3 separate regions of the Homo sapiens genome follow, and regions 2 and 3 are each linked to region 1. Evidence: promoter capture Hi-C in human tissues and cell types (Jung and others, 2019). All regions are on one chromosome and are shown on one strand. Each heading gives the region's core, a stretch centred on a gene start or on the middle of the fragment in contact. The rest is flanking DNA. Distances are from core to core; before and after follow the strand shown.

Region 1 (3,468 bases), core at 362-2,861:
ATCTTTGTTACTTCACATTGCTAGGTCTCTCAATCTCTTCCTCTAATAGGGGTTTAATAGGAGTCTCCATAGGGATCCCTTCCACTCTCAGACTTGAAGAACCTCACATGGCAACTCAGTGTCGTGAAGGAGGTGGGAAGAGTTTGCAAGGATGTTTCACTCTGCAGTCAACATCCCTCCCCGCGGCAAGACAGTCTAGCAGCCCCCCAAGAGCAAGGGGGGTAATTCCCTTATCTGGTCCCCTCATTCACAAAGGGAGGAAAAGCTAGGCGAGGTTGGAATTGGGTGACGGGCGAGGAGGAGATGCCAAAAGCACCTTGCAAGAGTTTTGGCAAGAAGCAGGAGGGATCCCTGGAAAGCCGGAATCACTCCTCGTCGTCGTCGTCCTGGTCCTGGTAGCGAATGTAGACGACCAGCATGACAAAGCCGGTGAGGATGCAGAGGGAGCCGACGACCAGGTAGGCGATGCCCAGGAAGGGGTTCTTGCCACCCATCCACGAGATGCTGCTGAAGATGAGGAGCTTGTGGCCGCCGAACGCGCGCACCGGGTAGTTGTAGGTGATGTTGACGCGGTAGGCGCCCCGCGGCAGCCCGGCCGAGTAGTTGCCCTGGCGGATGCGCGCGTACAGTTTGCGGAACGTGGGCAGCGCCGCCGTGCGCATCCACACCACGAAGTCCTGATTGATGAAGCCGGTGTTGTTGGGGTCGGGGCTGAGCTCGTAGACTGGCCGGCGCCAGTTGGGCGGGGGCGCCGTGCCCTGGAAGGCCAACGCCAGGCTGCCGTTGACCAGCGGCGGGTTGCGGAACTTGACGTGGTAGTCGGTCCACCAGGCGATGCCGGAGCGGTCGAGCGGCACCTCGACGTAGGGCCCGCCGGGCTGGCGCTGGTGCCAAAGCGAGAAGGAGTCGTTGAAGAGGCTGTTGGCGATGGCGCCGCAGGGCGCGATGGGCAGGCCGGCCGCGCTGCGCTGGTAGGGGGCGCACTCGTTGACAGGGTGGCGCAGCGCGCTGGGGAGTCCGCTCAGCTGCGCGTCGTCGCGGGACACGCCGTAGCGCCGGTTGTTCTGGTAGAAGTTGGTCAGCTCGTAGTAGAGGTACACTGGGCCCTGGAAGAGCTCGGGCAGCGAGAAGTACCAGGCGCACGAGCAGGGGGGCGGCAGCGCCCGGCCCTGGCCAGCCGCGGCGCACACCGAGCAGTTACCGGTGCCCGGGTCGCCTGTATAGTCGTACTCCAGCTCCTTGATGCCGTTGGAGGAGTAGTAGAGGCCCAGGCCCAGGCCGATGAAGGCCAGGCCCGCGCAGAAGAAGAGCGGCAGCGCGATGCTGGCCGACAGCAGCGGCTGCCAGGCGGGGAGGCGCTGCTGAGTGAAGGCGGTGTTGTCGGGCTGGTGGGCGCCCCGGGCCGTGGCGCTCCAGGTCATGGCGGCCGCGCGGGGACCGACGCGCGGGCTGACCGAGTGGGGGCCCCGCCGCGGGGCGCCTCCCTCTCCGCGCCGCGCAAGCCCGGGGACTGCTCGCGGGTCGGGTTTCCCGCCAGCTCAGGTGGGTTTTTGCCCGGGCCCCTCCTCTGCCTCCGTCACAGGTGAGTTTAGTTCCAGGCCCTACGAGCAGTGCCCACACCCTCCCAGTTCCGCCTCCGCCCAGGTGCGCTGCACCCCCGCGGGTCACCGGGAGCCGCACCTCGCCCGCCCCTTCCGAGGTGAGCAGGTGGGTGTTTTTTACCTCACCTGGTAGACTCAGTCTCGCGTTTCCTCTCAGTCCAGGTCATCGGACTCCACCTCCTCTCCTAGGTGAGTGGCGGCCCCGGGCTGCCTCTGAGTGGCTCCTACCTGGCTCAGGTACCACCTTCTCTTCCGCCTTCCAAGTGACTAGAGTTCCTGGGCCAGTCTCCCGAAATCAAAAGGCGCTCCGGCCTCCAGCAGAAATTTTTGCTGAGGGCTTGCACCGTGGTCCTGGAGGCTTGAAGATTTCAGATCCTTAATCCTCTGTTATTTGCGGGGAAAAGGTGGCTCTAGACCATTTTGTCTTTTAGGTTAGCTTCACAAACCGCTTTCGCCCAGCTTTCAGTCTCAAGTTGGGAGTGTCCAGGGAATTACGTTATGATAAATCTGTTTCGAATTCAACGCCTGCGTTCAAATTTTAGCTTTTTTTTTTTTTTTTTTTTTTTTTTTTTTTAAGGGAAAATGATTTTCTGGCCAGATCACCCAGTCTGGCTGTATAACTAGGAAATGTGGAAAGTTCTCTAAAAATAAAATCATCCTTAAAAAGAATCAAAGGCTGGAGAGGTTCAGAGCCTTTAAATAACTCTTAGCTGGTGTGGAGAAACCAAGAAAGGAAAAAATGTGCTGGACTACATGTGATTTCGTTTTCTTTTCAGATTATTTGCCTGACTAGAGAAAGGCCCAATCCAAGGTCCCAGGAGACCTAGCTGCTATCCACAAAAACATCTGGAGTGTCTGGCCTAAGGAAGTAAACTACAAGGATTTATAGGATTTATTATAAAAAGAACTCAAATTAGCTCCCTATGTTGCCTGGGATTCTGGCTTTTTTTTTTTTTTTTTTAAATCTAGGTTGGTAAAACATATACAAGGGGGTATTGGGACGTTCTGATTTCTTACTAAATCTAAATCTTCCCTAGGTATTGTGTTCTTGCTTCTCCTCCAGCTTGTAAAATGCAAGTAATACAAATGTTTTCTCTATTACACTACACCTAGCATAATATATTATATTCAGGAGTCATTCAAAACCCATTGAACTTGGAAAGTTAAAATCCTTATTAAATTTAACAGAGGAATGTTGTTAGCATCTTCCAAGTGTTCAGTCCTATGCTAATTAGACAAAAAAGGACCTTTGACCTCAAGGCATTTGCAGTTTGATAGGGGACATATTAGGAGTAAGAAACAATCAAAATAGCCAATAATAGCTATGAATCATAGGGTGTAATCAAGTATCAAATTGCATTCTACAAGTCACATTAAAATTAAAAAGTAATATTGATTTAATAATGGAACATTGATTCCAGTTTGTTAAATGAATGCAAGTTGGAAACCAGGTATTATAGAAGACTGAGGGAAATTCAAGTGACTTGAATTTCAATTCCCTCACTTCTTATCATACCCAAAGAGAGGAAGTTCCAAAATTCTCAGCAAGTTCCCACAGTGTGATCCAGTCTCCAGTCACCCTTTTTTTCAATAAAAGAATAAATAGTTCTTTGTATCATTATGGTTGAGTTCCACCCACCCGTTTCATTGAATCACTAGTCCACAAAACTCGTCTCTAGGAAGGAATTCAGTTTTCACAACTTTTGTAGATTTTTTTTTTTTTGAGAGAGAGGTGTCTCCCTCAGTTGTCCAGGCTTGTCTCAAACTCTTGAGCCCAAGAGATCCTTCTGCCTCAGCCTCCCAAATTGTTGGGATTATAGGTGTGAGCCATCACACCAAGCCTATCTGGTAAATCTTAAGTCTTTTT
Region 2 (3,468 bases), core at 588-3,087, 220 kb after region 1:
TCTTTTCTTTTTTTTTTTTTTTTTCCGAGATGGAGTCTCACTCTCACTCAGGCAGGAGTGCAATGGCATGGTCTTCACTCACTGCAACCTCCACCTCCCAGGTTCAAGTGATTCTCCTACCTCAGCCTCTTGAGTAGCTGGGACTATAGCACATGCCACCACACCCGGCTAATTTTTGTATTTTTAGTAGAGACGGGTGTCACTATGTTGGCCAGGCTGGTCGCAAACTCCTGACCTCGTGATCCGCACACCCCAGCCTTCCAAAGTGCTGGGATTACAGACATGAGCCACCATGCCCATTCAATCTTTTCTTTTATCAGAAGGGTCTATGGGTGACAGTTCAAGTCCTGGAAATAATTCTGCTATCTCTTGTTGGAGAAAGTGCTGGTTTTTTCAGATCAGGCAACAGGCTTATAAACGTTTATTGCAGTTACAAGCTACAAAGAAAGATTTCTTTCCAGCACTACTGCTCCAGGTAGAGCAGTTGCACCAGTCATTATTTATAACTGGATTAAAGAGTAGCAGCACATACTTCTACCGTGGTTATAGAGTGCCTTCTGTTGTACAGAGTGGACTGCTTATTCACCAGGGAGTTCTCAAACACCTTTCTCTATGGGCGCTGTCCCAAATAATGTCAAGAGAGAAAAAATTAAAAATGAGCTCCTGCCCTCTAAGAACAGATGGGAGCAGCCCCAAATCTTGCAAATGAAGCAAGAGGGGGTATTCAGTCTTTAATCCAAGCAGCTAGAAGCTTGCCTTTCCCAAGTTCACCGAGTGAGGATTTTAACACTCCTTTGACAAAGAAATGGGGCCGAGCAGCAGAGGAAGGCAGGTGACACTGAGTCATGGAATTCACCCTTTCGAGCCCTTCCTGGGGGATGTGTGGCTCTTGGGTTGGTTCTTGAAGGAAAGGAATGAATGTAAGAGAGGAAGGGAAGCAGGCTTTTTTTTTTTTTTTTTTTTTGACTCCTACACAGAAGGTGGAATTGAGAAAAATATACTGTGGCGGTGAAATCAACTTACAAAACTGAGGAGGAAAATTTTGACAAAAGCAAACCCAAAATCTGATTACTGTGGGGCTGTCCATTTTATTGCTGCACCAAGGAGCAGGGTAGATACTATTTTGGCCTAAAGAACACTGAAATTTTGTTTTCTCATTTGCAAATAGACAGGTTCAAACCCGTCAGAGGCCGTAACTGAGTTTCCCTGTGACTGATTTGTATGTGTGTTAGTGGTTTTTTTTTTTTTTTTCCTGTAAGAATCTGGTTGAGTAATTCAGAAGGTTAAAAAACAACCAAACAGAAATAAGTGAGAAAAGTTAACTGAGGTCTGCCACATATGCCGGGAAGGTGCCCACAGACTGGCAGAATCTGTGCAGTCTTTGTCTGTTTCTGCCTATGCAAATACTAAGCCACGCTCAACAGAGCTTGAGCGTTGTATCTGTTCAACTGCCATTTAAGAAATAGGACTCTGTTCTCAACAGCTTATTCCTTGGGGTTTCAGAATGTAAAATATGAAGTGTGTATAATCACAGGCCAGGTTCCCAGCATTTCTCGGCATTTCAGCTTTGGCAGGAGGAATGGGAAAAACTGAAGTTTTTATGTCCAGGAAGGCTGAGTGTAATCTTTGTTCTGTGGCACTGGGAAAGGAAGTGAATCTGTTACAAAGCGCTTTACCTCTGAAGCATGTCTCAGGGGCAGCTGTGCTTTGTGCCATGTATTCTGTTTTCATAAAAAGAAAGAGGTAGAGTCGAGGGCTTACCATGCAGAGTATTTTCACAGTATCTCACTTGATATATCATCCAGGGAAAGTGACCTGTGTTATACTTTGTGTTTTAAGATATAACTCTAGAATCAAAAACTTACCAGAGAAGCTCAAGATACTTTACTTTGCAAGAATTAATTCTCAAGATAAAAACTCATCAGAGTTCAAGATAAGAAGGGTTCAATTAACAACACATTTTAAATGGAAGAATTATTTAAAAAATTGTTTTAACTTTGAATGAGCTTAGATTAACTTACCTGTTGCAGAGGTAGGTCAGACCCCATGTCATCATTTGCCCAGAAAAGTCCCAGTTTGCTCCCATAATCCCCCTTCATGACCCATTTTACTCTCAGAGGCCCATTTTGTTTATTGGGTTTTTTTTTCTTGAGAGAGTCTCGCTCTGTTGCCCAGACTGGAGTGCAGTGGTGCGATCTCGGCTCACTGCAACCTCCACCTCCTGGGTTCAAGCCATTTTCCTGCTTCAGCCTCCTGAGTAGCTGGGATTACAGGTGCTCACCACCACCCCCGGCTAATTTTTGTTATTTTTAGTAGAGATGGGGTCTCACTATATTGGCCAGGCAGGTCTTGAACTCCTGAATTTAAGTCATCTACTCACCTCGGCCTCCCAAAGTGCTGGGATTACAGGCATGAGCCACCGCACCCAGCCGTCTGAGGCCCATTTTGGGCGGTACACTGCATGGTCATCATACAAAGAGGTGTCTGCATTTCTACTTTTTTTTCTTTAAGATGGTAGAACCAAACAAAAAAGGGTGTTTTTACAAATTGAGAGGGGTCCCTCTGTAGGAGGGGAATTTCTCCAGCATTTTCCTTTGATGGAGTATTCTCCTCTCGTTCAGAAATAGGAAATTTAGTAACTAAAGCATTAAGAACAGATTTATTTTTTAACATCAGTCACTACCTTAGTTTCAGAGACACACTGGGGGAAATTGCCTTTCCCTTACGCCTCTTGTTTTATGTCCTTTATATGAGATGTTAATATATTTACATGAGGTATAAATTTGTCTGTAACTTTATAGGTTTGTATTCATTTATTAATCCATCCATCCATTCATTTACTCATTCAACAAATGTTAATTGAGACCTATTTTTTGCCTGGAGATATAATAGTGACCACAATAGGCCTGCTCCCTGCCCACAGGAAGCAGGCATTCTAGTGTAAGCACACAAACAAGTAAAAGTAATTACCAATTGTGAAAGTTACATGGAAGGAAATAAGTGAGCTTTTATTTGTGGTTTTATTTCATAGAGCTGAAGGAAGTGAAGAGACAGATACCTCTCTCCCCACTTCTTTCATTGCTGAATGTCTGAAGTATTTCTTACTCCATTGGACTACTATGACAGAACACTATCGATTGGGTGGCTTGTAAACAACAGAAAATTATTTCTCAGTGCTCTAAAGGCTGGAAAGTGCAAGGTCAAGGTACCAGCAGATTTGGTGTCGGGTGAGGGCCTGTTTCTTGGTTCACGGATAGCTGCCTTCTCACTGAGACTTCACATGGTGGAAGCCGTGAGAGAGCTCTCTAGGATTTGTCTTTTCTTTTCTTTTCTTTTCTTTTTTTTTTTTTTTTTTTTTTTTTTTTTGAGGTGGAGTCTTGCTCTATCGCCCACTGCAACCTCCACCTACCGGCTTCAAGCAATTCTCCTGCCTCAGCCTCCTGAGTAGCTGGGATTACAGGCATGTGC
Region 3 (3,468 bases), core at 270-2,769, 200 kb before region 1:
ACTATATAACTTCCTAAGTTTATATGATATATCAAAAGTCAGTAAGGATTATACCATAATAATATTTACATTTCACAGGGAAGCAAAATACTTGGAGCCTCTCCTTGTCTTTGTCTAAAGATTTGTCATTCATTTGCATTCAAATAAATTCTTTGCTTTCATTCATCCAGAATGGTTCTCAATTTATTAGCTCATGAGACTACATAAATAGACTTGTATTCATACATTTTAATTTCAGTGTAAAATGGCTTTCCTCAATTTTTTTTTCTACTCAACTCTCCCAAAAGATGTCTAATCACTCCCACACTCAGTTACTTAAACATTTCATAATGTTGTTACTTCTATAGTAAAACAAAAAGTAATTTGCTTTTAATAAATCAGAGAGCCCTACTGTAGCAATCTAGAACTTTATTCTGGCGAGAGCAAATTCTCAAATTATATTTCCAGCCTCATTTGTGAATAGCTGATTTTCCCTGTCACAAAGCATTGTTAGGTAGGTACAGTATTTTTCTTTAGTTGGTAAACTACTGGAACTTACAATCCAATGGAGGTGACCTCTATACAATACCTGGGACGGTAATACCCTGAAGCGCAGGGTGTGGCTATTGCATGTGCCACATGCACATGAGGCCATCTGTGCGTGCTTGTTGAAAGAATGACATATCTTGGTGAGTAATATGAACATTAAAAGCTCTGCTGGATAAGCTCATAGAGGTGGGGTTCACTGCCTTCTGGGTGAGTGGGGAAGACTTTGTGAAGAAAGCAACAACTGAAGTAAAATTGAAGGATAACCAAAGTAGAAATGAGAATGAAAGGAAGATACTCCTGTTTGGAAAGAAAATACTAACAATATGTACAGGAAAATACAAGGTATACTTTGGAGATGACAAGTAAAAATTTTGCCAGGAGCACAGATGTAATAGCAATTTGAGAAGTAAAGCTGAAGGGTAGGATCCTGATGTAGAGAATGCTGGACCCAGGCTGAGCTTGGACTTTACATCAAGTAGAAGTGGTAGAGAAAGATTAATTGCCTCTCTGCATTGGACTAGTGCCATCGTCTTCCAAAAGCTAAAAAGAAGCACTTTAGGCCTTCAAGGGCTAGTTATCTAAAAACCACACTTGATTTGTTCTTAAGTCTCAGCTCCTGGGCATATGAGGAACTTTTTCTGGAGTTTTGGAAAATTCCTCATGCCCTCAGATCCTATTAAGACCTCTGGCATCTTTTTTTTTTTAATTATTTAATTTATTTATTTTTATTTTTTATTTTATTTATTTATTTATTTATTTATTTTGAGACAGGGTCTCATTCTGTCGCACAGGTTGGCGTGCAGTGGTGTGATCTCAGCTCATTGCAACCTCTGCCTCCCGGACTCAAGCAATCCTCCCACCTCAGCCTCCAGAGTAGCTGAGACTACAGGTATGCGCCACCATGCCCAGCTAATTTTTGTACTTTTTGTAGAGACAGGGTTTCACCATGTTGCCCAGGCTAGTCTCGAACTCCTGAGCTCAAGCAATCCGCCCACTTTGGCCTCCCAAAATTCTGGGATTACAGGCGTGAGCCACCGAGCCAGGTCAAGACCTCTGGCATCTTAAGAGACTTCCTATGAGTTCCTGCCTCCAAACTTTTTTTTTTTTTTTTTTTTTTGAGACAGAGTCTCGCTCTGTCGCCCAGGCTGGAGTGCAGTGGCGGGTATTGGCTTACTGCAACCTCTGCCTCCCGGGTTCAAGCGATTCTCCTGCCTCCACCTCCTGAGTAGCTGGGATTACAGGCACACACTACTACACCTAGCTAATTTTTCTATTTTTATTAGAGGCGGGGTTTCACCATGTTGGTCAGGCTGGTCTCGAACTTCTGACCTCTGGTGATCTACCCACCTCAGCCTCCCAGAGTGCTGGGATTACAGGTGTGAGCCACTGTGCCCGGCCTCCTGCCTCCAAACTTTTGCACAAACCATTCATGTTGTTTTTCTCTTTCCCCTCCAAAGCGTTTCTTCTCCCTCAAAACCTGTTTCCACACTCAACCTCCTCTAGAAGGACTTACCTGACTATGACTTAATGTAACTGCTCCATTACTCAGGAAACCTATGCTCAACATCTTGATGCTACATTTAATTTCTCTAAATGATAAAATATACAAATTCTTGTATATTTGTATGTCTAACCACCCTGCGACAGCCTTTAGGAAAGGTTCCACATCTGCCAACTCCTTTGTATCCTCCATCCAGAACCTGCCTCCCATCCCTACTTTACCCATCCACCTCAGAGACTTCATGGTACAGTGCAGTATACTTGGTGAGTGTTGATGGTTTAAGAGTGTGCCCTGAACAACGAAGGATTTCTTTGAGGCTGAAATCCTGTGGGATCCATGGAATGGGAGTTTCACCTGTCTTTGGCTTCTGCTCCTTTCCCCAGCATGTGTAGAGCTTCTAGAACAGTCCCCAGCAAGAGAGGATCACTTGGTACACCTCTTTCTTATCCTCACTGTCTCCAGTCTCTGCTGTAGGCCTGCTAGTGATGATCAGGATACAGGTTTTAACATGGCCAAGCTGTTAATAACCTGAGATTGGGCACCATGAACAATAAGCATTAAAAGGCAATAACAACAACAACAACATAACCTGTTAATTTTATGCAGGCTTAATTTTTTAAAGAACTATTTCTTCCTAACTTGCTTTTACTCTTCTTCATCTACTTTCTCATACCTATGACTGACAATGATAAGGACACCCACCCACTATACACACCTAATTCCATCCCTCCAAATTTGATTTCGTGTTCTCTAGAGCTGGCGTGTTATGTGACCTATTGTGGGGAGAGGCTCAGCTGAGGGACTCTGTGATGCCAAATGGACAAAGGCACACTTTTTTCTCCAGGTCCCAGCCTGGTGAAAGTCATAGCACCTGAGAATTTGGAGCTGACTCTCTCCTTTGGAAATTGTGCCTTCCAAAAATATATCTTACACTGCCTGTACCTGCATGCAATAGGTTTTGGTTCTTACCAACTGCAGCTTCAGTCTGAACTTGAGTTCTACCCTCATGGATGCAAATCAAAACAGCTCAGAATCAAGTCTGGGAAGCAAGTCGAAGTGGTTTGATTTGCATGGGGAGCTTTTGTCTCTGCATGAAGGCAGCCAAATTCCCTAGGCTCCCCAGCCCTCCGGAAATATGCTTTACAGGACCCGGGGGCCCAGGCCCAGTCGGGTGGGTGTGATTTGAATGTTCTCTGCTACAGCTGCTGCACCGGGCCCTGGTCACTGCTGTTGGTTTCGCTCCATTTTACTGCCTCAGAATCCCCCTGTGCATGTTAGTGGTTAATACAGCAGCCAGGAGACGCCAGACAGCTCTCGGCACCTGGTTCAAATTTAAGGCTCATTTACACATGATGTCACACACGCATTGTCAGCGCGAGGGAGGTCAGGATGGTTCATTTTGGGAAGGTTCACATTGTTGAGTCTTTACAACACTCACT

What was found. Contacts are between HindIII fragments. The study calls those that stand out against the background at their distance.
Region 2: a fragment that was not itself captured here is called in contact with the fragment with the promoter of TMEM30B in region 1 in 1 of the 25 tissues and cell types used here (heart left ventricle).
Region 3: a contact is called between a fragment that was not itself captured here and the fragment with the promoter of TMEM30B in region 1, in 1 of the 25 tissues and cell types used here (mesendoderm cells).

The regions. Positions count from the first base shown.
Region 1 is chr14:61,279,727-61,283,194 of GRCh38, forward strand. It overlaps TMEM30B (transmembrane protein 30B), which reads right to left and starts at 1,612. Exons shown (of 1, transcript NM_001017970.3): 1 at 1-1,612. The coding sequence starts at 1,421. The coding sequence ends at 366. It also overlaps a transcript of PRKCH not described here. RefSeq lists an enhancer at 74-1,037. The HindIII fragment of the contact is 14,970 bases long and covers 1-3,468 here.
Region 2 is chr14:61,502,059-61,505,526 of GRCh38, forward strand. The region is part of intron 10 of PRKCH (protein kinase C eta); the gene reads left to right. Among named protein-coding and RNA genes, the nearest start is that of PRKCH-AS2, 42 kb to the right of the region's middle. The HindIII fragment of the contact is 8,499 bases long and covers 1-3,468 here.
Region 3 is chr14:61,077,511-61,080,978 of GRCh38, forward strand. It overlaps a transcript of SLC38A6 not described here. Among named protein-coding and RNA genes, the nearest start is that of SLC38A6, 98 kb to the left of the region's middle. The HindIII fragment of the contact is 7,669 bases long and covers 1-3,468 here.